Linked DNA regions of Homo sapiens: all the other regions are linked to region 1. Evidence: promoter capture Hi-C in human tissues and cell types (Jung and others, 2019). All regions are on one chromosome and are shown on one strand. The core of a region is centred on a gene start or on the middle of the fragment in contact, and the rest is flanking DNA. Distances in the headings are between cores, read along the strand shown. Region 1 holds the start of COX5A (cytochrome c oxidase subunit 5A). Region 2 overlaps PML (PML nuclear body scaffold). Region 3 overlaps CYP11A1 (cytochrome P450 family 11 subfamily A member 1). Region 4 holds the start of SIN3A (SIN3 transcription regulator family member A).

Evidence for each region. The method cuts DNA at HindIII sites, captures the fragments that hold promoters and counts their contacts. A contact is called where the count stands out against the background at its distance.
Region 2: a fragment that was not itself captured here is called in contact with the fragment with the promoter of COX5A in region 1 in 1 of the 25 tissues and cell types used here (dorsolateral prefrontal cortex).
Region 3: a contact is called between a fragment that was not itself captured here and the fragment with the promoter of COX5A in region 1, in 2 of the 25 tissues and cell types used here (aorta and psoas muscle).
Region 4: the fragment with the promoter of SIN3A here is called in contact with the fragment with the promoter of COX5A in region 1 in 2 of the 25 tissues and cell types used here (hippocampus and mesenchymal stem cells).

The regions. Positions count from the first base shown.
Region 1 is chr15:74,936,368-74,940,054 of GRCh38, reverse strand. It overlaps COX5A (cytochrome c oxidase subunit 5A), which reads left to right and starts at 1,982. Exons shown (of 5, transcript NM_004255.4): 1 at 1,982-2,140. The coding sequence starts at 2,041. RefSeq lists a silencer at 1,729-2,288. The HindIII fragment of the contact is 14,403 bases long and covers 1-3,687 here.
Region 2 is chr15:73,997,936-74,001,622 of GRCh38, reverse strand. It overlaps PML (PML nuclear body scaffold), which reads right to left. Exons shown (of 9, transcript NM_033238.3): 2 at 3,147-3,619. Among named protein-coding and RNA genes, the nearest start is that of PML, 5.1 kb to the right of the region's middle. RefSeq lists an enhancer at 3,533-3,687. The HindIII fragment of the contact is 4,698 bases long and covers 1-3,687 here.
Region 3 is chr15:74,358,579-74,362,265 of GRCh38, reverse strand. All of the region lies in intron 1 of CYP11A1 (cytochrome P450 family 11 subfamily A member 1), which reads left to right. It also overlaps the pseudogene PPIAP46. Among named protein-coding and RNA genes, the nearest start is that of CYP11A1, 7.2 kb to the left of the region's middle. The HindIII fragment of the contact is 5,215 bases long and covers 1-3,687 here.
Region 4 is chr15:75,449,628-75,453,314 of GRCh38, reverse strand. SIN3A (SIN3 transcription regulator family member A) reads left to right here and starts at 1,625. Exons shown (of 21, transcript NM_001145358.2): 1 at 1,625-1,892. RefSeq lists enhancers at 91-180, 210-741, 971-1,020, 2,731-2,860, 2,288-3,207 and 1 more and silencers at 1,661-1,760, 1,981-2,480. The HindIII fragment of the contact is 10,283 bases long and covers 1-3,687 here.

The sequences.
Region 1 (3,687 bases), core at 733-3,232:
GCTAATGTTAGTAATTTTAATAGAGATGGGGTTTCACCATGTTGGCCAGGCTGGTCTCAAACTCCTGACCTCAAGTGATCTCCTGGCCTTGGCGGCTCAAAGTGCTAGGATTACAGGCGTGAACCACCGTGCTCGGCCTTAATTTCTTTATGGCCAGCTGTTACATAGAAAGGCAAAGAGAAAGGTTAGAGCAATATTTTTAGGCTTTATGGCTGGCTTTGGGACAAAGGGGTTCTACTTTCTAGACCCCCTCTTGGGGAGGAGGGATTCTAGTTTCTGTGGCATGCCTGGAGGGAGAGTAAGGGGCAAGAGACAAGAGGGCAGAAGGTCAGAGAGAAACTGCTTCATAGGCCTTCACTTTGTGGTATTGTTTTCTAAGCCCCAGCACTAGGTTGGTGGGAAACGGTGAGGGCAGGTGCTTTGAAAACATTTTAAAAATCCTTTTCCCCGCCAGGTTCCTACCCACTGAAGCCACACTGCTAGGGAGGAAAAAGAGAAGGGCAGATGCTGAGGCCCTGGAGAGTCGGCCTGAAGTGAGGAAGTGGCACATGAATGGCCACCTTTTCTTTCCTCAGTGTGCCCAGGGATAGAGAATGGGAGACAGCAAGACAGAATACAATGTCTCATTAACTCTGGGCAGCATCCAGATACTTCAGGCCTGGGAGAGGTGTCCTTGACTGCCCAGGGGCTCAAAGTTAGGATGTAGCTAGTGAGATAAGATGCAACAACTGTGGAACTTGATCAACCCTATTTCAGAGCCATCGTGGATTCAGGAGCCCTCCTGTAGGAGATGGGAAACATTCAGGTGAGAGTCCTCAGAACTGGGGATGTGGCGAAAAGATCCTTGACTGCCAGCAGCAACCTAATTTCTGAGCCTCTTTCCTAATCTGTGAAATGAAGTAGTTTAACTCATTTTTTATGCAAGCTGGTTTGTGATATAAGAATATGTACTAATAAAATCCCTTACGCATAGGCCTTTTTTTTTTTTGAGATGGAGTTTTGATCTTGTTGCCCAGGCTGGAGTGCAATGGTGCGATCTCAACTCACTGCAACCTCTGCCTCCTGGGTTCCAGCAATTCTCCTGCCTCAGCCTCCCAAATAGCTGGGATTACAGGCATGCGCCACCACACCTGGCTAATTTTGCATTTTTAGTAGAGACAGGGGTTTCTCCATGTTGGTCAGGCTGGTCTCGAACTCCCGACCTCAGGTGATCCGCCCGCCTTGGGCTCCCAAAGTGCTAGGATTACAGGCGTGAGCAACCGCGTCCAGCGGCATTCTTTCCCCCATTCGCTGTTTTATTTTATGCCACAATGAGAAGGCGGGGCTAAGCAAAGTAGGTTTTTGTTTTGTTTGGTTTTTTTGAGACGGAGTTTCGCTCTTGTTGCCCAGGCTGGAGTGCAATGGCACCATCTCGGCTCACCGCAACCTCCTCCTCCTGGGTTCAAGCGATTCTCCTGCCTCAGCCTCCCGAGTAGCTGGGATTGCGGGCATGCGTTGCGCCACCACGCCTGGCTAATTTTGTATTTTTAGTAGAGACGGGGGTTCCTCCATGTTGCCCAGGCTGGTCTTGAACTCCCGACCGCAGGTGATCCGCCCGCCTCGGCCTCCCAAAAGTGCTGGGATTACAGGCATGAGCCACAGCGCCCGGGCGCAAAGTACGTATTTTTTATTATAGTTTGTTGTTATTGCTGTCATTCCTATTTTGAGGTGATTAAGTGCCCTCCTGGGCCTGACTCGAACAAGATCACGGTCGGTTGCTCCTCCCTCGCCTCCATTCCTACTTACAGGATGGCAGCTGCACGTCACCTGACCAGAGACAAGGCGGGACGCGAGGCTAACAGTTTGTCCTCAGCGCGCCGCCGTAGCCCCCGCCGCCGCCGGCCGCGCGGTGGCTCCTCCCGCCCACGCGCCAGAGTCGCAGTGGGCGGGCCTACGTGCTCCGCCCGCTGTGAGCCTGTCCGGCCCCCGCCCGCTCCGGAGCAACCCGCGAGCTTACACCGGCTTCTCTCTGTCCTCAGCCCGCGCGCCGCCATCGCCGTCATGCTGGGCGCCGCTCTCCGCCGCTGCGCTGTGGCCGCAACCACCCGGGCCGACCCTCGAGGCCTCCTGCACTCCGCCCGGACCCCCGGCCCCGCCGTGGGTAAGGCCCCTGCTTGCCACTGCCCGCGCCCTCGTGTCCTTGCGGTGACCTGGGTCCCCGCTGCCACTCCGGGGCGGGCTCTCCCCGGCCTAGCCCTTGCCCTACCCTGGTTACTGAACCCGGTGACCGCGGGCCGCCCTGCCCGCCGCCTCGAGTAGTGGAGGACCTGAAAGCGCGCCCCCGGGGCCTCCCCCCGCGCAACTTCCTGGCTGTGCCACCGCGGACAGGTCAGATGTGGACCTGCTGTGGGCGCCGAGGAGGGGACGCAGCGCTCCCCTTCGGTTCCCGGGCCATGACCCTGCCCCAGCGCCGACCCTGCGGCCACCTGACCGAGAGTGGCCGCCGCCGGCCTGCAGCGCCTCGGCGAAGGTGACATTGAGCCTCCGGGCACGCCGCTTGGGGTCCGAGGACACAATATACTTCCGTATGGGACACACGATTATACTTTTCAATCAGGCATTTCTCGGTTAGCGATTAGTGTGTCACCTTCACAGCCTTTTCCATCATTTTTAGGGTCTGCTGTGCCACGTTCTAATTCTTCCACGTTTAAAATAGATGGAAGTGTGTGGTTGTTTCCTGATCTCCGGAAGATAGCCAGAGTTTTGATAGGGCTTATGATAAAAATATCACTCTTTTGAAAACTGAATGTCACAGACACAGGAATACTGGGTTTTACAAGCATAGGAACGCTTCGTGTTTTTTCCCCTTTGTAATAGAAGCCTGATTGCTGGAGTATGAGACGTGCTTCTGATTTTTGTCTATTTTCCTTCCCTTTATATGTGTGCTGGGAGGTTTTGAGTCCACCACCATAGAATAATTACAGTAATTGCACTTCGATCTTGGTCCGTGAAATTTAGCTTCTATGCATGCATATTATATTTTATTTTTGAACCTGCATCACTGGCAACTATGCATGCGTATTTAAACATAAGAACTCAGAAACTCGTTTCAGGGTATGCTGAAGTTAAAAATTAAAAAAAGAACTCAGCCGGGCGCGGTGGCTCATGCCTGTAATCCCAGCACTTTGGTAGGCCGAGGCGGGCGGATCACCTGAGGTCAGGAGTTCAAGACCAGCCTGGCCAACATGGTGAAACCCTGTCTGTACTAAAAATACAAAAAATTTAGCTGGGTGTGGTGGTGGGCGCCTGTAATCCCAGCTACTCGGGAGGCTGAAGCACAAGAATCGCTTGAACCTGAGAGGCGGAGGTTGCAGTGAGCCGAAATCGCGCCATTGCACTCCAGCCTGGCCGACAGAGCGAGACTCCGTCTCAAAAAAAAAAAAAAAAAAAAAAGAATATGTTTTGCTTCATTCATTTTAGACTTTTATCATTTGTCGTAGAACCATAAGGCTGGAGGGTACTTTATTTTTGTTTATTTATTTATTTTTAAATTAGAGACGGAGTGTCCCTATGTTGCCCAGGCTGGGCTTGAACTCCTGGGCTCAGGTGATCCTCCCACCTCAGCCTCCCAAAGTTTGGGATTATAGGCATGAGCCACTGCAGCCAACCTAGAGTGTACTTTAGAGATCGTGGAAGCCATTTTATTTT
Region 2 (3,687 bases), core at 796-3,295, 940 kb after region 1:
ACGCCTGTAATCCCAGAACTTTGGGAGACTGAGGCGGGTGGATCACTTGAGGCCAGGAGTTCGAGACCAGCCTGGTCAACATGGGGAAACCCCGTCTCTACTAAAAATAAAAAAAATTAGCCAGGCATGGTGGTGGGCACCTGTAGTCTCAGCTACTGGGGAGGCTGAGGCAGGAGAATCACTTGAACCCAGGAGGCACAGGTTGCAGTGAGCCAAGATCTACCACTGCACTCCAGCCTGGGTGACAGAGGGAGATTCTCAAAAAAAAAAAAGTTATTATTATTAAACAATAAAGATTGCAAATAAATGAATTATAAGTTCAAGAAGCTAGAAAATGAATAATGACAAAAGTTAGAAGGAAGAAAATGACAAAAATAAAATGATCAAACAGAAAGAAGGAAAACATTAAAATCAGTAAGCAATCTAAGGAAAGACTAAAAGTACAGTACTTTGAAAAGACTGCTAAACCACAAATATACAACATCAGAAATAAAAAAAGGGGGTATAGTTACAGGCATATAGGAGATTTTTAAATAATGAAAGATAACTCAGGATGAACTGGAAAATCTTCCAAAAATCTGACACAAGAGCCAAAACAGATTAATGCCATGGCAAAAATGGGAAAAGTTCCCAAAAATCTACTATAAAAAAGGCACCAGTTCCAAGATGGTTTTTCAAAAAACTTTTATAAGCCTAAATTTCTTATATTCTTCAAATTGTTCTAGAGCAGAGAAATTATAATAGAATTTTAACATTCACTGAGTATTTAATATGTGCCAGGCACTACGCTAAACAATTTATATGTACAGTTGGCCCTCAGTATCTGCAGGTTACGCACCCGTGGATTCAACAAATCTTGGATCAAAAATATTCAGGCGAAAAAAAATCAATTAAAAAAGTACCACAATAAAAAAATATACAAATTCAAAAATATAGTAAAACAACTCTTTACATAGCATTTACATTGTATTAGGCATTATAAGTAATCTAGAGATGACTTAAAGTATACAGGAGGGGATGGGTACAGTGGCTCACACCTGTAATCCCAGCACTTTGAGAGGCCTAGGGAGGGTTGCTGCCTGAGCCCAAGAGTTCTCAAGACCAGTCTGGGCAATGTCGTGAAACCCTGTCTCTACAAAAAATTTAAAAATTAGCTGAGTGTGGTGGTGCACACCTGCAGTCCTGTATAATCTGGTGGCTGAGGTGGGAGGATTGTTTGAACCCAAGAGATTGAGGCTGCAGTGAGCCACGAGTGCAGCACTGCACTCCAGCCTGGGCGACAGAGCAAGACCCCGTCTCAAAAAATAAAAATAAAATAAAAAATAAAGTATACAGGAGGATGTGTAGAGGTTATATACAAATACTATGCCATTTTATATCAGAGACTTGAGCATCTATGAATTTGAAACAGACTCCCATGGATCCCGTGGGATGGCTGCATTATCACGTTCAAAACATGAAAGCTTACAAATTCATTAAGAAATTAGTATAAGGCTGGGCATGGTGGCTCATGCCTGTAATCCCAGAACTTTGGGAGGCCGAGGCAGGTGGATCACCTGAGGTCAGGAGACCAGCCTGACCATTATAGTGAAACCCTGTCTCTACTAAAAATGCCAAAAAATTAGCCAGGCATGATGATGTGCACCTGTAATCGCAGCTACTTGGGAGGCTGAGGCAGGAAAATGGCGTGAACCCGGGAGGTGGAGGTTGCAGTGAGCCGAGATCGCGCCACTGCACTCCAGCCTGGGTGACACAGCGAGACTCCATCTCAAAAAAAAAAAAAAAAAATTAAAAAAAATTTTTTAAATCCAAAAGATAGAACCAGAGATAAAGCCAATTTCTCCTAATTTATTGCAATTTCAATCAAAATCCAATAAATATGTAAGTTTTAAAACTGCATAAATTGTAAGAGCAAAAGAAATGCATACATTTTTTTCTTTCGAGGAATTTGTTCCTGAATTCTTTAATTAGTCCCTTAATTCCTCAACGGAAACAACAACAACAACAGGCAAAGGACCTAAACAGGCCACTCGCAAATGCAGAAACACAATGGCCAATAAACAAGTGGAAAGCCACTCAACCTTTACAATAAGCTAAGAAACGTGGTGATACCAGCTGTTGAGGAGTCGGAGGGGAAAGCTTATTCTGATAGTGTGGGAAGTTTATCCTAAAGCAGGAAACAAATCACAGTCAGTTTAGCAGATATGTAGTTCAGCAAATATGTGGTTTAGCCATATATAGTTCTGAGTTGTCAAAAACCAGCGAAAAATGCTTTCATTTTGCAAGTGGATCTCTAAGAACCAAGAAGCGCCTTCTATGAACAATCTATTGCTAATGGTGAAAAGTTCACATAGTTATGCTACCTTTTTGGCTAAAAGAGGGAAAATAGGACCTGATAAGATTGCTCCTACCTGCATATATATTCGTAAAGAAACTCTCAGAAGAAACATTCAAAACTAGTAACAATGGCTACCTGTGGATGGGAAGAGGGAGAAGTGGTGGGAATTAGGCAGTTGGGCATGGACAGAAGATTGCACTCTCTCTCTCCTCTTTACAAATTTTGTTCGTGAACTGTACGAATGTATTACCTATTAAAAAACTGAGTTAAAATCTGTTTAATAAAAATAATTACAACTGGATGTGATTTTTTTTCCCCATACAGACATTCTCAGATAGCGCTGCCTGGTGTTAATGGTTTCAACTTTTCAGACAGAAACTAACTACTTGTCTCTGATCCTAGAATCCAGCCTTACTGAGATTCCGTGTCAGTGCTCTCGGAAAATTCCACTAAATTCTAAAGGGCAGTTTGGTAACATGTATCAAATGTAGAATTCCCGTCCCCCTACACCCAGCAGTGGCACTTCTAAAAATTTATCCTAAAGAAGTTACTGGATAAAGATGCAAAGATGATTCTGCAGCATTATTTATTACAGGAGGAAACTGGAAACTTACTATCCACCTGCGTGGGGACTGGCAGCATAAATTGTGGTCATCAACACGGACACTGCATATCTGCAGACCACATTTAGAGTTGCAAGGCCCCAGAAGCTCCTTGTCCTCAGCTGTGTGACTCTTTGGATCTTTGCTCCTCTCGCCCTCTACCTGGTACTTGGATGCACCACCCCACCCTGTGCCGGCCTACTCACCTGGTCAGCGTAGGGGTGCGGTGGTTGGGGTTGGAGCAGAAGATGTTGTTGGTCTTGCGGGTGCCGTCCAGGAACTCACGCACCGACTGGTTGCGCAGCTCTGCTAGGGGCCGGGCCTCGTGCTTGAGGAACCACTGGTGTGCCTCGAAGCACTTGGCGCAGAGGAGCTGCTCGCACTCAAAGCACCAGAAGTCGGCCGACTCTTTGCAGCGGGTGCACACAGCCTGCGCATCCACAATCTGCCGGTACACCGACAGGCGCCGCTGCAGACTCTCGAAAAAGACGTTATCCAGGGCGGGTGTGTCTGCACCTAGGGGCCAGGGCGCCTGGCAGATGGGGCACTGCATGCCCGACGCCTCCAGGCATCCTGAGCACAGCGTGTGCAGACAAGGCAGCAGCTTCGGGCACTTGGCTTCCGCCTGGCATTGCTGGCAGCGCAGAAACTGGAACTCCTCCTCCGAAGCGGGGGCTCGCTGGGGGACCAGAGAGGCAGGTGAGGCCTGGAGAAGTCCCAAAAGCCCCCACCTACCGGCCAACCACC
Region 3 (3,687 bases), core at 330-2,829, 580 kb after region 1:
ATGGGATCAAGCATTGGTTATAAACAATTTTTTGTTGTTATTTAGTTTTTATTTCATAATCATAAACTTTAACTCAACTCTGCAGTCCAGCTAGGCATGGAAGGGAACTGCAGCGAGAGCACAAAGATTCTAGGATACTGCGAGCAAATGGGGTGGAGGGTGCTGTCCTGAGCTACAGAAGGAATGGTCTGGTGGTTAAGATAAAACACAAGTCAAACTTATTAGAGTTGTCCACAGTCAGCAATGGTGATCTTCTTCCTGGTCTTGCCATTCCTGGACCCAAAGCGCTCCGTGGCCTCCACAATATTCATGCCTTCTTTCACCTTGCCAAAGACCACATGCTTGCCATCCACCACTCAGTCTTGTCAGTGCAGATGAAAAACTGGGAACCGTTTGTATTGGATCCAGCATTTGCCATGGACAAGATGCCAGGACGTGTATGCCTTAGGATGAAGTTCTCATCATCAAATTTCTCCCCATAGATGGACTTGCCACCAGTGCCATTATGGCATATGAAGTCACCACCCTGACACATAAATCCTGGAATAATTATGTGAAAGCAGGAACCCTTATAACCAAATCCTTCCTCTCCAGTGCTCAGAGCATGAAAGTTTTCTGCTGTTTTTGGAATCTTGTCTGCAAACAGCTCAAAGGAGACGTGACCCAAGGGCTCGCCGTGACTGCGATGTCAAAGAACACGGTGGGGTTGACCATGGCTGATAGTACAGGGCTCCTGGTGGCAGTGACGGCATCTGCAAAGCGACAGGTTATAAACTATTTTAAACAATTTCAGTATTAGCTGGTTTAACATGAAAGTCTTTTCTTGATATGTAATTAATTTTTTGTTGTTGTTGTTTTACGTGGGTTAGTAGCTTTATACAAGAAAATTTGGTCATTTTTGTGGTTTACAATAACTTAACATAATTATAATTGTGATTGGTAACATATACTTAGACATTAGAATTTGAGAAATCCCATACAATTTTGGAATATATTATTCACAAAAATATAACCTAAAGAAGATTTAACATCATTTTGTCAATCCCATGTACCTAAACATGTCAAATAATCCTGTTTACCTCTTTTCTGGATGTTTTCAGGGGCCCTCTGATTCATCTAGAAAGCCAGGCATTAGGAAAGACAATTTTGAAACTGAAGTTTGATTTTGGAATTCCAGATTACCGTAAACTATTTATTTTGCCAAAATGATGACTCAGAAATTTTAAAGAAGCAAAAACCTTTTGTAACCTTCCACACACACAAAAAAACCCCCAACACTTTCTACTGTTCTTATACACCTTGCATGTAAAACTGTTTCTAGTAGTCTTAATTGCATGTTATAATGGCAAATTTGTTTTTTTTGAGACAGAGTTTCACTCTTGTTGCCCAGGCTGGAGTGCAATGGCATGATCTCGGCTCACTTCAACCTCTGCCTCCTGAGTTCAAATGATTCTCCTGCCTCAGCCTCCCCAGTAGCTGGGATTACAGGCAGGCACCACCTTGCCCAGCTAATTTTGTATTTTTACTAGAGATGGGGGTTTCACCATGTTGGTCAGGCTGGTCTTGAACTCCTGACCTTAGGTGATCCACCTGCCTCGGCCTCCCCAAATGCTGGGATTACAGGTGCGAGGCACTGTGACTGGCCTATAATGGCGAATTTTAACATAAAACCTGGTAAGTTAGGCCAGGCGCGGTGGCTCACTCCTGTAATCCCAGCACTTTGGGAGGCCGAGGCGGGTGGATCATGAGGTCAGGAGTTCAAGACCAGCCTAGCCAAGATGGTAAAACCCCATCTCTACTAAAAATAATAATAAAAAATTAGCCAGGTGTGGTGGCGGGCGTCTGTAATTCCAGCTACTCAGGAGGCTAGGGCAGAGAATTGCTTGAATCTGGGAGATGGAGATTGTGGGTGAGCCGAGATTGCGCCACTGCACTCCAGCCTGGGGGACAGAGTGAGACTCTGTCAAAACAAAAACAAAAACAAAAAAAACTGGTAAGTTCTGATAAAGTTTCTGATAAGGTTTGACTACTTCCAGCACAGCTAGGGGCATGGCTAACTCCACGTGTCCCCAGGCCTTACCTAGCTGGAAAGCAGGCAAGTTAAACAATTTTCAAAAGCCAAAGGAGTAGCTTATGATGTTAAAGGATTTAGCAAACCTAGTATTTGAACATAATGTACACCACATGTTTACATTTTGAAGACAACTGTATTTTTCCAATAATCTTGAAAACTGTCTTTATTTCCCAACTATTGCTAAAGTCACATGAACTAAAAGGCATTACACTTTCTACTTTTCTGACAAAATATTTGACTTAAGCTTTTATTATTATTAAACCAATTAATTTAAAATCTTACAGAGGAGATATACGTGACTTCTACTTTATATTTAACCAGTTTGCATAGAGGGAAAGAGCCCAGAGACTGACTCATAAGAAATTCTTATCCTTTCACCGGCATGCCAGATTTCAGGGTTCTCTCTTTCACGCGTGTCCCTGTGAAGAGACCACTGAACAGGCTTTGTGTGAGCAATAAAGCTTTTTAATCACCTGGGTGCAGGTGGGCTAAGTCCGTAAAGAGAGTCAGCGAAGGGAGATAGGGGTGGGGCCGTTTTATAGGATTTGGGTAGGTCATGGAAAATTACAGTCAAAGGGGTTGTTCTTTGGCAGGCACGGGCAGGGGACACAAGGTGCTCAGTGGGGGAGCTTTTGAGCCAGGATGAGCCAGGAGAAGGAATTTCACAAGGTAATGTCATCAGTTAAGGCAGGAACAGGCCGTTTTCACTTCTTTTGTGATCCTTCAGTTACTTCAGGCCATCTGGGTGCATACGTGCAGGTCACAGGGGACATGATGGCTTAGCTTGGGCTCAGAGGCCTGATATTCCTGTCTTCTTATATTAGTAAGAAAAATAACATAAAATAGTGTTGAAGTGTTGGGGCAGCAAAAATTTTGGGGGTGGTATGGAGAGATAATGGGCAATGTTTCTCAGGGCTGCTTCAAGCAGGATTAAGGGCAGTGTGGGAACCTAGAGTGGGAGAGATTAAGCCAAAGGAAGATTTTGTGGTAAGGGGTGATATTGTGGGGTTGTTAAAAGGAGCATTTGTCATGTAGAATGATTGGTGATGGCCTGGATGCAATTTTGTATGAACTGAAAAACTAAATGGAAGACACAAGGTCTGAATAAGAGAAGGAGAAAAACAGGTATTAAAGGACTAAGAATTGGGAGGACCCAGGACATCCGATTAGAGAGTGCCCAAGGGGATTCAGTGTAATTACTTGTTTGGTTGGTGAGTTTTTGGGCTCTATTCTTGACAGAGTCCTTTTTTTAAGTTGGAGGCTGAGTTTGGTGAGGTGTGTTTTTAAAAGACCATTAGTCCGTTTTACCTTTCCTGAAGATTGAAGACGGTAAGGGGTATGAAGGTTTCACTGAATACCAAGAGCCTGAGAAACTGCTTGAGTGATTTGACTAATAAAGGCTGGTCTGTTATCAGACTGTATAGAGGTAGGAAGGCCAAACCGAGGAATTATGTCTGACAGAAGGGAAGAAATGATCGTGGTGGCCTTTTCAGACCCTACGGGAAAGGTCTCTACCCAACCGGTGAACGTGTCTACCTAGACCAAGAGGTATTTTAGTTTCCTGACTTGGGGCATGTGAGTAAAGTCAATTTGCCAGTCCTGGGCAGAGGCAA
Region 4 (3,687 bases), core at 376-2,875, 510 kb before region 1:
ACTGGCGAGGCTGCTCCCACCTGTCGGCTACCCTTGGAGTTCACAATTCGCTGCTGTGGTTTCGCGGCTCGAAGCCATCGCTGGAGTCAGGCCCACCTGCTGCCAGAGCTCGTTCCTGGCCGTTTCCGCTGGATTGCAGAGGGAGGACAGTGTTGGACCTAGGCGTGGGTTCCCTGGGCGTGTCCCTTGGGGTCTTAGCTCTCTGGGAGGAGGGTTCTACTTATTCGGGAGAGCGGTAACAACGTAATCCCGTCACCTCTCCTGGCGCTGAGAGAGCGCCCCCCAAAGTAAGATCAGCGTCAGGCCCACGCCCTATTTGGTGAATAAATAAAAGCAAACTAGGAATTGAAAGCACTTTGTCTCACTGTGTGTTCGAGGCACTGTTACCTACACAGAGAGGGCACAGGAACTGCTATTAACACTCCCGGCCAAGGAGAAGGTGAACAGCCGTTATCTTATGTCCCCAACTACGGAAATTTTATCCATTCTCTGAGTGTGGCATGTCCCCAATGTTAATTTATGCCGTGGCCTGTTTTGGTGTTTTCCTCTCCTTTCTCAGTTCTGAGGATGCCTCCAGATCCACCCGGGAGATCGTGAGTACCTTGTGCCTCACGCTCCGCCTTCCGGAGGCTTGCCAGGGCGGTGGCTGTTAGAGCCCGCCTCTCTTTTGGTTATCTCCGCCCTCTTAGGACTGCATATTCAGCTCTAGGGAGTTTACTTCTCCGCCTAGGTCTCCAGACCTTAGTTCTGTACTCTACTTGGCTGAAAGGAGTTGCCAGCTGCTCCGGATATTTGTGTTTACAAGGACGCAGTGTGTAGAATGTAAACTGTAAAGATAACTGGACGGAAGGATGAGTTCTCATTCTCTCATTTTTTTTGTGAGGGAGTCCTCCATGGTGGGCTGCCTTTCCTTCAAATCCTAGGATGTGGAGTCTCCGCTGATGAGCTCCGCTCCCCCTCCTATCTCGGGCCCTGGAACTCCGAGCTTCAGTCTCTAGTGTAAACATTCCACAAAAGGACTGCTAAGGTTCAGCCTCCTCGCGCAGGGTGGAATTAGCTCCTTCCTAGACGGGCGCCCTGGCCAATGGAGGGTCCTACCAGCGCCAAGATATCCAATCCGACTCTTGGGGCGGGGCCTGGCCCGGCAGTGCGGTAGGCGGAGCCTGTTTCACTTACAGACATTTTACCCCACATCGGTTACTTACCTTACTGGGGCGGTGGGAGAGCCAGGGGTAGCCTTCCAATGCGATGACCAGCGGAGGCGGGAGCCAACTTGTTAGGCCTGTGGCTGAGACGCTGCAGGGCGGGTTATGTGGTGTCCTCCAATGAGACAGGAAGAGCTTCCCTGCTTCCTCCAATAGTGTTGGGGCTCGGGGGTGGGCTTCAGCAGTCCGTCTCCAATAGGCGGGGTTGAGTTAGGGAAGCTCCCCGCCAATAGGGGCGTGGAGAAGGAGAGCGGCTCCCCCTCCCCTACCAGTCGAGGGGGAAGGGGCGGGAAAATCATAAGACAGGCCTCGGTGGTTGGCTGAGTCTTTGACGGGCGGGTATTGCGTCCTGTATTGGAACGAAGCTGAGTCTTCCCTCTGCGGGGCGGGGTCGGGGGAGTGGGCGGGATTTCCCGGGTAACAGAGAAGCGGCCGCGGCGGTAGAGGCGGCGGAGACGGTTTCTCCATCTTCCCCCCTCCCCTTCCCCCCTCGGAGTTTCCCTCCCTCCCTCCCTCCCTCCTTCCCAGTCTGGGCACCGGAGCCTGTGACCGCTTCGTTAGTGGAGAGGTAGCTGGCAGTCCGCTTCGGCGGGCCTGTGCCCCGCGCCGTTCTCGGGGCCTCCCTGCTGAGCTCGCGGCTCACGCTGAGAGGGACACGCAGTGACGAGCGGCCGAAGCAGCTTTGCGGTGAGAGCACGCTGGGCCGGGGGCCGGGCGGGAGCCTGGTGGCGGGTAACGCCGGACTCGAGGGTGTGTATTTTGGGGGGGGGGGGCTGACCTCCTCGGCTTCCCGTAGAGCAGACGGGCGGGAGGTGTGTGGTTGTGTGAGGGGGGTGGGGGGCGGAGCGGGGTAGCTCTCCGCGCGGGAGGGGGAGGAGAGCGTAGTCCCGGTGCGCGCGGAGGGGGGCGGGCTCTCGCGCCGCCGCTCAGAGGCGGGGCCGGCGCGCGCGTGCGATTGTGGAGAAAGGGGCGGGGCCGGCTTCGCGCTGAGTGCAGTTTGCGGCCGACCACCCCCTCCCCTCCTCCTGGGGTGGGCGGGGCCTCGGGCTGGCGGCCGCGCTCTGGCCTGCTGGGGTCGGGGAGGGGTAGGGGGGGGTCTCCCGCGTGTAGATTCAGGGCGCGGCAGGGAGGGGGCGTGAAGTCTGAGTTCCTCCGCCTTCTTGGGATCCGGTTGGCCGGAGGGGCCGTACTGATCCGTGATGCCACTCCCCTTGGCCGTCCCCCCCTGCACCCCGCCCAGGCCCCGGGTTTCCGCCTCCTTGGCAATGAGGAGGTGCTAGGGAAAGCCCGCTGTCGGGTCTGGCTGGGAGTCTCGGCGCCTAGATCTGCCCCGCCCTATGTCTCCGTGGGGAGGGAGGGGCACCCGCCGACTGGGAGCTGTGGAGGTGTCAGGACTTACTCTTGTGGCTGGGTCATGCCTTCTGCCTGGGGGCACAAGGGCCCTGTGCCGGAGCTGCTTTCTCCGCTTTGCTCCATGCAGCGTGTCTGGCACCGTGCAGCCAGGAGAGTGGGAGCATGGTCACCCCCACTCCCCTCTTGGTTGTAACTATTGGGGCGAAGTGCCCAAGGTCCTCTTGTAGGAGCGTGCGTGGCTGGTGCTGGAACCCTAGATCCGCGGTGGTGATGGTAGGGGAGGGGCAGGGAGTCATCAGAGACTAGAAATGTGGCGGAGGGAAAACCTTCCCTGGGGTTCCCTTGATGTTCAGTTACCGTGGCTGTACGGGGCGGGGCTTCCTTTGAGCCAATGGGTGGTGGGTAGTAGACTTGGCGTCTGTTTCGGTGCGTTAGGACTTTAAACGAAGTTAGCCTTGAAAAGGCAGTGGAAGCTCCTCCTCTTTACAAGGCTGAGATTTATAACAGGAAAGTTTGGATTTACATTTTAATCTCAAAACTGGTCTGTTTATAAAGTAGGGTTTGTTTTTTTTTTTTAAGAACTCAGACTTTGAATAAAATACTCCGATATCTCTGACAGTTGTATTTTTGAATGCTTTCATTGTGCACATGGTTCTGCTATATAAACTTAGTTTCCTGGACGGGCGCGGTGGCTCATGCCTGTAATCCTAGCACTTTGGGAGGCCGAGGCAGGTGGATCACTTGAGGTCAGGAGTTCGAGACCAGCCAGGCTTACATGGCGAAACCCTGTTTCTACTAAAAATACAAAAAAAAGCTGGGCGTGGTGGCAAGCGCCTGTAATCCCAGCTACTGGGGAGGCTGAGGCAGGAGAATCACTTGAACCCGGGAGGCGAGGGTGCAGTGAGCCGAGATGGTGCCATTGCACTGTAGCCTGGGCGACAGGAGCAAAACTCCGCCTCAAAAAACAACCAAAAAAACTTGGTTTCCTAAAGAATTTGCTATTTAGGTAACTATAGGTGAAAAGTCTTTTCTTTTTTATTTTATGTACTTATGTTAGACCATCTAGACCACTTTCTATTTATACTCTACATAGTACAGTGTTGTTGCCCTTTTTATTTCAGAGGAGGGT